3 separate regions of the Homo sapiens genome follow, and all the other regions are linked to region 2. The links are contacts of gene promoters, found by promoter capture Hi-C in blood cells and fetal thymus (Javierre and others, 2016). All regions are on one chromosome and are shown on one strand. The core of a region is centred on a gene start or on the middle of the fragment in contact, and the rest is flanking DNA. Distances in the headings are between cores, read along the strand shown.

Region 1 (4,005 bases), core at 1,339-3,838, 250 kb before region 2:
TTAGCTATTATTATTATTCCAGGAAACCCTCTTGGACAAATTAGGCTGAATAGCCTTCTTTCATGTCACCTTAGCACACTGTGCATATTTTATATTACCACATTACAGTGAAGAGGTGTCTTCCTCTGTCTGCCTCCACAGCTAGAGTGCAAGCTCCTTGAGGCAGGGACCATGTCTTACTCATCTTTTCAATCTAGTGCCAAAGGGGTATAGTGTCCTGTGCATCGCATGCATTCAAAAAATCTTTGTGTATTCAACTGATCCCCAGCATACCTTCCAATCATTTTTAGTCCTAGAGGGGTTTCTTTTTTTTTTTTTTTTTTTTTTTTTTTTTGAGACGGAGTCTCACTCTACCGCCCAGCTGGAGTGCAGTGGCGCGATCTCGGCTCACTGCAAGCTCCACCTCCCAGGTTCACACTATTTTCCTGTCTCAGCCTCCCGAGTAGCTGGGACTACAAGCACCCGCCACCACCTCCGGCTAATTTTTTGTATTTTTAGTAGAGACGGTGTTTCACTGTAGTCTCGATCTCCTGACCTCGTGATCCGCCCGCCTCGGCCTCCCAAAGTGCTGGGATTACAGGCGTGAGCCACCGCGCCGGGTGAGGGGTTTCTTAAAAAGCATTTTCATCAGATGAGACCCCAGCCCTGAGGGGAGAAGGAGAAAGAGAAAGAGAAAGAAAGAGTATTTTCAGCCACCACCTGAGGCCACCATGTTCTTCCTCTCTTACACATCTAGTACATACCCCCTTAGGCTTCCCATAAATCCTGTCTTTCCTGTGGATAATTTCTTCAATCATTAGTGGTGTGCTTCTTCTTTCTTTTTTTTTTTTTTTGTTTGAGACGGAGTCCCACTCTGTCGCCCAGGCTGGAGTGCAGTGGCGCAGTCTCAGCTCACTGCAACCTCAACCTCCCAGGTTCAAGCAATTCTCCTGCCTCAGCCTCCCAAGTAGCTGGGATTACAAGCATGCGTCACCACGCCTGGCTATCATTAGTGGTGTGTTTCTCCAATGATGTCCCTAAATCTTCTTCCCTGGGGTCTGCACCTCCCTTGAACCTCCCCATTCTACACCTAGTGCATGCTTTGCCAGGGTAATTCCAAAGGCATCTGGGGGTTGGGGCTGTTGGTAGAAATCCTAGATGTCATGGCTGGATCTTTCCTGGAAGTTTGGGTTGGGACAGGTATTAAACAGGCCACTCTGAATGTATAAATCTAATTAAAAATTTATGTGATTGGTGGGCATTTTTTCCAACCTAATAAAGTCCCTTTCCATCCCCCAGCTCTTTGTATTTTAAAAGCCAGGTCACTAGACTTGATAATTCTAGAGAGAGCTGACTGAAAAGAGTTGGTTTGATTAGAAACAGAGGTTCAACACTTTTACACTGTTGGTGGGAATGTAAATTAGCTCAACCATTGTGGAAGACAATGTGGTGTTTCCTCAAAGACCTAAAACCAGAAATACCATTTGACCCAGCAATCCCATTACTGGGTATATACCCAAAGGAATATAAATAATTTTATTACGAAGATACTTGCACGCATATGTTCACTGCAGTACTATTCACAATAGCGAAGACATAGAATCAACCCAAATGCCCATCAATGATAGACTGGATTAAAAAAATGTGGTACGTATACACCATGGAATACTACACAGCCATAAAAAGGAACGAGATAATGTCCTTTGCAGGGACATGGATGGAACTAGAAGCCATTATCTTCAGCAAACTAACACAGAAACAGAAAACCAAACATTGCATGTTCTCACTTATAAGTAGGAGCTGAACAATGAGAACACATGGGCACAGGGAGAGGAACAACACACACTGGGGCCTGTAGGGGGAGGAGCTGGGGAGAGGGAGAGCATTGGGAAGAATAGCTTAATAGATGCAAGGCTTAATGGGTTGATAGGTGTAGCGAACCACCATGGCACACATTTACCTATGTAACAAAACTGCACATCCTGCAAATGTACCCTGGAACAAAATAAAATAAAATAAGAAATAGAGGTTTGAGTCTTTCCTGGTAAGCATATTTATGCTCTACCACAGACGGTTCAGCCTTGGGGCAAGACAGTCTTTCTCCTAATTTTTGTAGTTTTGAACATTCTAAAGTTTTTGTTGTTGTTGTTGTTGTTTTCCCTGAGGACAGAGGCAACTTTGGGGAAGTACTTTGTCGGGTAGGATGGAATCTGGGGCCTTTAGTTTTCCTTCCAAGAGCCCATAGGAGGTTTTGGGTGCCTTCTCAATGCTGGCATGAGAAAATATAAAGCAGATGGACAGTGAACTTTGGTATATTCACTCCTTATGAATGTTATGTGGAAAAGTGGAAGAACATAAGCTGTTTGTCTATGCTATGTTTACAATTGGTTTGCTCTATTTTGTGCATGTGGACAAAAATGGGGGAAAAATGAAAGCTGTGTTAGGATAATGGGTATACGGCTGAATTTTCCAGGAATTTCTATAATAACACCAAATCGCATGTTTTAATGCCCACCGTGAACAAAGAAGACCGGAACCCTCGCAACTCGTTTTGACGTTTTCTGGTCGGCGGTAAAAGCTCGGTTCCCGGCCCTCCCGGAAGTTGTTGCACAGTTGTTTCCGGGAAGCGGGACTCCAAATGGGTCGCAGTCGCAGCCGCTCTCCACGGAGGGGTGAGTCCTGTAGCAATTCGGAGGATATGGGGCTCTGTTGGAGGCCTGTCCCTTTTGTTTTATTTTGTTTTGTTTTTGGTAGCCGCGTAGCAGAGAGGCGGGCCCTTTTCCCAGGCGGAGAGCGAGGGGTGGATAAAGGAACGTAGACCTGGGCCCTGCCCTCTTCAGCCCGCCCTCTCCGGTTTGAAGGCAGTTGTTTGTCTCTGAATTAGTTTCATTAAGTCTTTGTCACCTTCATACAATAACTTTTATTACACTGTGGCCGGTGGGTTTAGAATTAGACCTCAGTTCCTTTGCTGAATTTCTGGGCGACGGTGGGCAAGTCACTACTCAGCCTTTCTGAATCGAATTCCCAGAATGAGTCATTGAGGGTAGTATTGCCAACTTTTAAAAACTGATGTGAGAATTAATGTCACATCCCATAACATACAGTATGTGATTCTGCCTGGTTCTTAAATACTTAATAAATGTTAGATTCCTGCCCAGGTCATTACAGGGAAATCGATATTAAGAATTTTGAGTCCTGGGAGCTCACTTCGTAATGTTTTCTGGCTACCAGCCCCATAAATGAGGCAGCGCGACGTAAAGAACCCTGGACTTCCATTAGGAGATCTAACTTAGACCCTCGGTTCTGCCCCTGATTCGTTTTTTTTTTAAATCAATTTATTTATTTTTAATGAGACAGAGTCTCGCTCTGTCGCCCGCCCAGGCTGGAGTGCAGTGGCCGATCTCAGCTCACTGCAACCTCCACCTCCTGGGTTCAAGCGATTCTCATGCCTCAGCCTTCCGAGTAGCTGGGATTACCCGTCCGTGCCACCACGCCTGGCTAATTTTTGTATTTTTATTAGAGACGGGGTTTCGCCGCGTTGGCCAGGCTGGTCTCGAACTCCTGACCTTGTGATCCGCCCGCCAGCCTCACAAAGTGCTGGGATTACAGGCGTGAGCCACCGCTCCCAGCCTCTTTTTACCTTTTTAATGTGACTAGTAATGGTTTGCATTATTTTTCTACTGGACGGCGCAGCTCTAGATATTTGAGGTAATTATCAGTTCTGCAATTTGTGTGCGTTTGCATTAGAACGTAGGCGTTCCCGGTCCACATCCCGGGAGAGAGAACGCAGGCGCCGAGAAAGGTCCAGGTCTCGGGAGAGAGATCGGAGAAGGAGCCGCTCGCGATCCCCGCACCGAAGACGCTCCCGGTAAGGGCAGAAAATAAGCCAAGAGTTTTATTTACCGAAAGTCCCTAAGAAACTGGTCGCAGCTCTTAACTTTGTTTTCATCGCTTATAAGGGGATTTACGGTTTCCTGAAATGGAGGAAACTTAATCCAACCTTATTCTAAAGCTAACATTCACCTT
Region 2 (4,080 bases), core at 1,031-3,530:
TATAAATGGTAGCGGTGGCCAAGAGAATGGGGTGACAGAGGGGGGGAAACCCACGGTGTTACATGCTTTCACCCATACCCTCCAGGATGGCCCTGAGCGTCTCACACCCTAGGGGCCTGACCAGGTACTGACACTTTCTTGCCAAAGCCCTACAACCATCACCTCCCTACTGTGAAATGTGAGGTAAGTTGCTTAAACCGGCGGAACCAGTTTCCTCAACTACATAGAGGGATGATGATTCCCCCTAGCTCACAGGACCGCTGTGGGAATCAAATGAGATCACTCATGTGAAAAGCCTAGCACAACCCCTGACACATGACACAAGCACTTCAGGACATATTCATGTTCCTCCTTCCAGGACAGGGCCTTACACTGTCTACTCTGGTAAACCAGCCTCATATAAGCTCCTGGAGGCTGGCGTGTCCCCAGGGGTCAGGCCATCCCAGAAACGATGACTTGACCATAGTCACGTCATGAGGTGAGAGATTCCGGGAAGGGGCAGCAAGAGGAGAAAGAAGCGAAGGGCGCCCCAAGGTAATGTGTGCCCTACACAGGGCTCCTAGCCATAAGCACTTATGCAAGTGCGGGGCACAGAGAAAATTCTGGTAACACTCCTCCCCTCAATTCTGATCAGGTCCCAGGCTCAACTAATCAGTTCAGGGATGGGCCCTTTGCCACCTTTTTCCTAACCAAAGCCACTCTCAAGGGGAAACTTCTATTAACGGCCAGTAAGCAAGACACACAACGCTTTTTGTTTGAAGGACTACCCAGGCGTTAGTGCCCTTCCAGACCGGCTCTAGTGACTGGCGGGGAAGAAGGGGAAAAAGAATTAGTGTATCTGGACACAACACCCAGCATGTGCTAGGCAGAAACTAAGTGTGCGAAGCGGATCCCGATGTACAAAGGGGAAAACAGCGGCTGGGAAAGCCTGAGCCACGGGCTCCAGGCGGCCAGTCGCGGTCCTCCCGGCGCGTGCCCTCCTCCTCCCCGACCTGGCCGGAGCTGACCGGGGCGGGTGTAGGCCCGGGGGCGGGAGGGCTACTGGATCCCAGGTGGGGCGGGTGTAGGCCCGGGGACGGGAGGGCGACGGGATCCCAGGTAGGGCGGGGCCTGGCTCCGGGCGCGACGGCTCTTTGCTCGCAGCGCCGCGCCGTCTCGAGGTCGGGGTGCGGCCCGACCCCACGTGCCCCAAATCCCCCCCGCTGCCCTGTAAAACCTGCGGGCCCCGGTCCAGGCGTGGTCCCGCTCGCACGAGGGAGCGGTCGCCCAGGGTGCCGGGAAGTCGGGGACCGGCCAGCCGCCGACCGGCCGCACCCCTCCCCGCCGAGCTCGCGCGCCCGCCTCGTCAGCACCTTTCCCGCAGCGCAGCCCCACAGTGGTCACGAGGCGGGCGCGGCCCGGTCAGCCCTGGCTAGACTAGGCATCGGCACCACCCACCTCGCCCCTCCCCGTCCCGCTGGTTTCCCCTCCCCCTCCTTCCCCTCCCCCTCTCTGTTCTCCTTCCCCTCCCGATCCCCGGGCGGGCCGCAGCGCGCCACGTACCTGGCCCCGCCCCTGCGAGCCACGCAGGGAACCCCGGTGACGTCACCACCCTCCGGCGCTCTCATTCCCGCGCTCTCCAGAAAAGACGCGAAGGTGGTGACGTGTCCCGTGCGCCAGGGCGGCTGCGCAGGAGGCATTGGCAACTGAGCGTCCTGCGGCGCCGCCTGGTGGAAGCAAAGCAGCCGAGCCCCCCGGAAGCGGCGGCGCGGGCGAGTGGAGAACGTGACTTACGTCATCTGGCGGAGGCGTGGGGGCGGCTGCCGCGTGACCAGCCCCAGCCAGGCGCGGTCGGCGCGTTTCTCTTTCTCTTCTCCTACTCTCAGCGGAGCGGGTGGAAGCTTGATTTCATGCCGTTTATTTTACTTTGACTGTTTTCAAACCTATCAAGTTAATATTGTTAATTATAGAAAACGTGGGGGGAAAAGGGAAAAGATAGGTAGAAAATGATTCTTAGCATCCCCAAGCATCTTTAACCTTTCATTATGTTTACTTCCAGCCTTTTTCATGAAACAAAATTGTGGTCTGACTGTATACAGTGGTATTAACTACAAAGATTCCTAAGAAGGGACAAAAAGCACCTTTTAGCTTCAAGGCTAATTTAGAGGAACAGGTAGAAGAGGAAAAGTTCAAACAATGGACAAAATGAGTGATTCGTCCACGGTATCTAATCACTGTTCACATCATCCGGAGGAAACGGGCTCAGAGTCATGCCCAAGGCCGCGCATAAAAGAGTGGCAGACTGGGGTTTCAAACCCAGGCTCTAAACTGTGAACCTGCAAGATGGTGGGAGTGGGGAAGACAGTGAAAAGTTGTGCAGGGAATTCACAGAACTACAGAACCCACTTTGTACTTCTGGAACTGCTGAGTGGGGAACTAGTTCTAAGGAACAAGGTTAGTGCCCCAGCAGTTGGAGCAGTTTGGTGAGAGAGTGGCACAAAGCTGACACTGGTACATGGCCCTGGCCACTAGTTGTTAAGTTCCACCCATCTCCAGCACTGCCCTCCCCATGAGTGACAGTGAAAGGTGGGAGGGACGTTACAGGACTGTATCAGGCATTAGACCTGCTACTCCAAGTGCAGTCTGGTGCAGTCTGCAGGCCAGCAGCCTCCCTGCTGTCCAGCACTTTCCGCATCACTTGGAAGCTTGATGGAAATGCAGAATCTTGGACCACACTTTAAAGCTTCTGAATCGGGCGGCATGCGATGCCTCATGCTTGTAATCCCAGCACTTTGGGAGGCCAAGGTGGGTGGATCACCTGAGGTCAGGAGTTTTGAGACCACCCTGGCCAACATGTTGGCCCCGTCTCTACTAAACCCCATCTCTACTAAAAGTACAAAAATTAGCCGGGCATGGTGGCGGGCGCCTGTAATCCCAGCTACTTGGGAGGCTGAGACAGGAGGATCGCTTGAACCCGGGAGGCAGAGGTTGCATTGAGCCAAAACTGTTCCGTTGCACTCCAGCCTGGGCAACCAAGATGTCCCTTCTTAGGAACCTTTGTAGTTAATACCACTGTATACAGTCAGACCACAATTTTGTTTCATGAAAAAGGCTGGAAGTAAACATAATGAAAGGTTAAAGATGCTTGGGGGTGCTAAGAATCATTTTCTACCTATCTTTTCCCTTTTCCCCCCACGTTTTTGAAACTCTGTCTCAAAAAATTTAAAAAATAAAGCTTCTACATCAAAATACGCATTTTAACTAGGTCCCTGGGTGATTCCTGTGCACATTGAAGTTTGAGAAGTGCTGTTGTAAATAAAGTAAGTCGTCCTGCTCGCTTGGTACAGCAGGTGGGATGGTAGATGCGAAGGGCGCTTGCAGAACTGGATGATGGGAAGACAGGCAGGCAGGGAGCAAGGTCGGTAAGGAGGATTAAAAAAAAATCAAGGCTGGGCGCGGTGGCTTACGCCTGCAATCGCTGCGCTTTGGGAGGCCAAAGCAGGCGGATCACCTGAGGTCGGGACTTCGAGACCAGGCTGACCAACAGGGAGAAACCCCGTCTCTACTAAAAATACACAATTAGCCGGGCATGGGTGGCGCATGCCTGTAATCCCAGCTACTGGTGAGGCCGAGGCAGGAGAACTGCTTGAACCCGGCAGGTGGAGGTTATGGTGAGCCGAGATCATGCCATTGCACTCCAGTCTGGGCAACAAGAGCGAAACTGCGTCTCAAAAAAAAAAAAAAATTCCTACGAGTGTCAGAAAATATGATCTGCCACAAAGGAAAACCAGGAAATCAGAATCTGGGAGCTAAAGGAAGAAGAAATAGGTGAAGCAGGTAAGCAGATCTCTTGAGAAAATTCACTAATAGACAAAGGGCTGCCCCCCTGTGGGTGATTTTTTTGTGTTGTCTGTGACTTACAGGGTCTAGTTATTATAATTCACAGAGCTTAGGGAGAGCAGCCCCTGCCCATCCCCTCCAGCAGGGTATAGTGAGATTTCTCTGGGTTCTTCTAGCTGAGGGCATATTCTGGGCGTTTTTGGACAGGGGAGAACCAGGGATAGGAGGAGCTGGCTGAGGTTCTGACAGAACAGTGTCTGT
Region 3 (4,254 bases), core at 626-3,125, 150 kb after region 2:
ATGAATCCAGAGGATACTTACATCACCAAAAATAACTTTCAGATAAAAAGAGTAATTTTCACAATAATTTCTGAGTAACTTCTATTTTTTTTTTTTTTTTTGAGACGGAGTCTCGCTCTGTTGCCCAGGCTGGAGTGCAGTGGCGCGATCTCGGCTCACTGCAAGCTCCGCCTCCCGGGTTCACGCCATTCTCCTGCCTCAGCCTCCCGAGTAGCTGGGACTACAAGCGCCCGCCACCAAGCCCACGTAATTTTTTGTATTTTTATAGACACGGGGTTTCACCGTTTTAGCCATGATGATCTCCATCTCCTGACCTCGTGATCCGCCCGCCTCGGCCTCCCAAAGTGCTGGGATTACAGGCGTGAGCCACCGCGTTGGGCTTATGTTTTAATAATTAATTCCTTAACAGACCTAACTAAAATATACATAGAAGTAGTTTTCATACAAAAGATGGCTTTGATACAAATGGACCTTTAAATGCAAAAATATTATTATTTTTTGAAACAGAGTTTCGGTCTTGTTACCCAGGCTGGAGGGCAATGGCGCGATCTTGACTCACTGCAACCTCCGCTTCCCGGGTTCAAGCGATTCTCCTGCCTCAACCTCCGGAATAGCTGAGACTACAGGCGCACACCACCTGCCTGGCTAATTTTTTGTATTTTTAGTAGAGACGGGGGTTTCACCATGTTGGCCAGGCTGGTCTCGAACTCCTGACCTCAGGTGATCCTCCCGCCTCAGCCTCCCAAAGTGCTGGGATTACAGGCGTGAGCCACTGTGCCCGGCCGCAAAATTATTAAATAGGAACTTTACCTTTTGTCTGACTTCCATGGGCCTGGTAATAAATGAACTAACTATACACAAAGCCAACCACATGCTACGCCAGAAAAAACTGATCCCTGTAAAAATTTTGCATCCTTTGTGCAATCCAACTAATACATGTAGAATTCCAGCATCAGGAAGTATAAGCAAAACAGAAACGTAGTCAGGAAACACATAACCTGTTAAGTCCACTCAAAAAGTATTTGAGGAATTCAAAGCTTTACGTTGAGTCCTACCTAAAGTAAGGCTCTCCTACTTAAAGTTGTTTGACTTTACTGGGTGTGTAGAAAAAACTTCAAAAAATTAGCCTTCTCTGACTAGAAAAAATTAATGTTCTTAAAAAAAAAGAAAAATGAATGTTCTTATATAGTTTCAACATCAGAGCAAGATAACACATGACATTCAAGCTTAACGTAAAAGAAGGCAAGAAAAAGGAATGAGGTTTCTAAGTAAAAGCTCAAACACCTACAAACACATTTGCTAAGACTAAAGTGGCTTTCGGATTCTGATGCCTCACGTAGTTTTAAAAACACTTCCTTCCCTTCCAGCCCCTCCTTAGTTCCTTCAGAGAATTTCCCCCTCTAGCCGTCTATCTAGAACATGATACTATTCGAGATGTTCAACAAAAGGTAGCACTGGAGATCTTCAAGGAACGAGGGACAGCGCCGGGTGACCAGGGGCCAGACCGCGGGACCTGGAGACTAGTCGGCCGGAAGGAGGTGCCGTGGCTGCCGGCTGTAACCACACCGACGCGCGAGCTCTGCGCGGGCTTCACGTCTCATGCGCGGGAGCCTGGCCGGGATCCCGGCGACCTCGGACCGGAAGAAGAAATGAAGTGAAGCGGCTCAAGACATTCGGCTAACGGAGAGGGAACCAAGGGACTCGCAGGACGCAAATAACTGACCACTTCGGTTTGGCTCTCACACATACTTACTTTTTCAACTCGGGAGGGTGAGCTTTGCTCATGGTGTATACTCCGCGGGCTCACAGATGCCTTGGAACGCAACGCACGGCTTTCCTCACGCTCCCGCTGTAGGCCCGGCGTCTTGCGTCTGGCGTCATCGACCTCGTTAGCCAATGGATTGTTGGCAGTTTTTACATTTCACCTCGCGATATCTCAGCGCCTCGGTCATCGTTGAGCTTCCGGTTATGTCCTCAGCGATTGGCCAGGACGGAGGGGTGCGTCCTCTAGGCACCTTTCTGAATTCCGTTTTCCTTGTACAAAATTGAGATAACGGGTATTCCACCGGTGGGTATCCCTGCTCTTTTTCTTTTCTTTTTGAGACGGAGTCTAGCTCTGTCGCCCAGGCTGGAGTGCAGTGGCGCGATCTCGGCTCACTGCAAGCTCCGCCTCCCGGCCTCACGCCATTCTCCTGCCTCAGCCACCCGAATAGCTGGGACTACAGGCGCCCGCCACCATGCCCGGCTAATTTTGTGTATTTTTTAGTAGAGACGGGGTTTCGCCGTGTTAGCCAGGATGGTCTCGATCTCCTGACCTCGTTATCCGCCCGCCTCGGCCTCCCAAAGTGCTAGGATTACAGGCGTGAGCTACCGCGCCCAGCCGGTTATCCCTGCTCTTGTCTATGGAACAGCCAAAATAAATAAAAATAAATAAATAAATAAAAAAAGCCGGGCGCCGTAAATCCCAGAACTTTGGATCTCTTGAGCCCAGGAGTTCGAGACCAGCCTGTGCAACATAGCGAGACCCCTTCTCTATTTAAAAAATAAAATTGAGATATTGAGATAACGGTCCCGTCTCTAGCTCCTGGGCAAACCCGGCCAATCCCGCATGTCTGTGGATCGTATCGCTTATTTTCTTCATATATACCAATATACCAAATGATAATGATCCCTGGAGGAATGGGCCTCTCTCTATATATGTATATTTTTTTGAGACGGAGTCTTGCTCTGTCGCCCAGGCTGGAGTGCAGTGGCGCGATCTCGGCTCACTGCAAGCTCTGCCTCCCGGGTTCACGCCATTCTCCTGCCTCAGCCTCCCGAGTAGCTGGGACAACAGGTGCCCGCCACCACGCCGGGCTGATTTTTTGTATTTTTAGTAGACACCGTATTTCACTGTGTTAGCCAGGATGGTCTTGATCTCCTGACCTCGTGATCCGCTGGCCTCGGCCTCCCAAAGTGCTGGGATTACAGGCGTGAGCCCCCGCTCCCGGCTGGGCCTCTATATTTTTTTGGCAGGTAACCCTACAGCATACTGTCAGACCAAGTAGGGTTCCCGTAACATGTAAATTAGCAGCCTCTGAACCATTGTAGAGTAAGGTGACTGGGTCTGTCTCCAAGAATTTGAATCTATTTCTGACTGAGGGGTCTTGCAAAAAAAATTTTTTTTGAGATGAGTTCTTGCTCTGTCGCCTAGGCTGGGGAGCATGGTGTGATCATGGCTCACTGCAACCTCGAACTCCTGGCCTCAAGCAATCCTTCCACCTCAGCCTCCTGAGTTGTTGAGACTACAGGCGCACGCCACTGCACCCAGCTAATTTTTTTTTGTAGAGACGAGGTCTTGCTTTGTTGCCCAGGCTGTTCTCAAATTCCTGGCCTCAAGAGATCTGCCTGCCTCCGGCTCCCAAAGTGCTGAGATTACAGGGGTTAGCCAGCATGCCTGGGAATTCTGAAATTTTTCAAACACTACCTCCAGAACTCACTGATGTGCTATTGCCCCTGTATATAAAATGTGAAGTGCAGCACACAAACATTTTCTAATATAAGGTGTTCTTTTTTCATGTCAAGATGTGTAAAAAGTGGTCTCGGACTTGTTCCCAGTTGTTACCCCAAAATTATAGAAGACTAAACCAAAATAGAATACCTTGTGTTTAAATAGGGGATAGTTCTCAAAAATTCAGTTAATTCCTGATATTCTGGAATGGCTCTATATAAATATCAATGATAGTAAAGACTTAAACTCATCACATATTTTGCACTCTCTTAGTACTCAAAATCCTAGACACTGAATTTTTTCTAGCAGGGTCATAGCTTTGTACCTTTACTACCACTTGCTATTAGTGTTTAGTTGAAGCTAGAGACCTGACATAGATAATGAATTTCTCTTTTTAGCCTCATAGACAGTTTCTTTTCTACATTAATGAACTTCAAGTCACAATGTCCTAGTCTCCTCTCAAAGTTTTTCCCATTTACAGTGAACCAGTTCTGCATCTGAACCATAACAACTAATTTCCACTCTTCTGGACATTTTAACTCATTTAACCTGTTAAAAGGAGAAGCATCCTGAGAAAGTTACATATTCACCACCCAGATATAAGGAAAGAAGACTCAATAGTGGGGAGAAAATTAAACCTTATTTATTTTTAAAGTCAAACCACTAGGAAAATATATCACAGCCTGGAAACAGCAAACGGACAGGCTATATTATAATTTCAAGTAATAAGTTGGTGAAAATTCAACGAAGTTGCTATCAAAACA

The links. Contacts are between HindIII fragments. The CHiCAGO score rates a contact against its expected background, and 5 or more counts as called.
Region 1: a contact is called between the fragment with the promoter of SNRNP27 here and a fragment that was not itself captured in region 2, in 2 of 17 cell types (naive CD8 T cells and naive CD4 T cells). The highest score is 8.1, in naive CD8 T cells.
Region 3: a contact is called between the fragment with the promoter of SNRPG here and a fragment that was not itself captured in region 2, in 3 of 17 cell types (fetal thymus, activated CD4 T cells and naive B cells). The highest score is 8.3, in fetal thymus.

Annotation. Positions count from the first base shown.
Region 1 is chr2:69,891,368-69,895,372 of GRCh38, forward strand. It overlaps SNRNP27 (small nuclear ribonucleoprotein U4/U6.U5 subunit 27), which reads left to right and starts at 2,589. Exons shown (of 6, transcript NM_006857.3): 1 at 2,589-2,651; 2 at 3,727-3,847. The coding sequence starts at 2,618. RefSeq lists enhancers at 2,214-3,149, 2,892-2,951, 3,150-4,005. The HindIII fragment of the contact is 14,817 bases long and covers 1-4,005 here.
Region 2 is chr2:70,141,127-70,145,206 of GRCh38, forward strand. No RefSeq gene overlaps it. Among named protein-coding and RNA genes, the nearest start is that of LINC01816, 18 kb to the left of the region's middle. RefSeq lists enhancers at 1-392, 1,613-1,972, 1,983-2,122 and silencers at 31-325, 813-1,522, 2,453-2,502. The HindIII fragment of the contact is 804 bases long and covers 1,879-2,682 here.
Region 3 is chr2:70,291,865-70,296,118 of GRCh38, forward strand. SNRPG (small nuclear ribonucleoprotein polypeptide G) reads right to left here and starts at 1,876. Exons shown (of 4, transcript NM_003096.4): 1 at 1,754-1,876. The coding sequence starts at 1,785. LOC124906023 (a long non-coding RNA gene) reads left to right here and starts at 2,038. Exons shown (of 2, transcript XR_007086880.1): 1 at 2,038-2,068; 2 at 3,194-4,150. FAM136A (family with sequence similarity 136 member A) reads right to left here. Exons shown (of 3, transcript NM_001329752.2): 3 at 4,112-4,254. RefSeq lists enhancers at 634-1,541, 1,558-2,037. The HindIII fragment of the contact is 8,673 bases long and covers 1,225-4,254 here.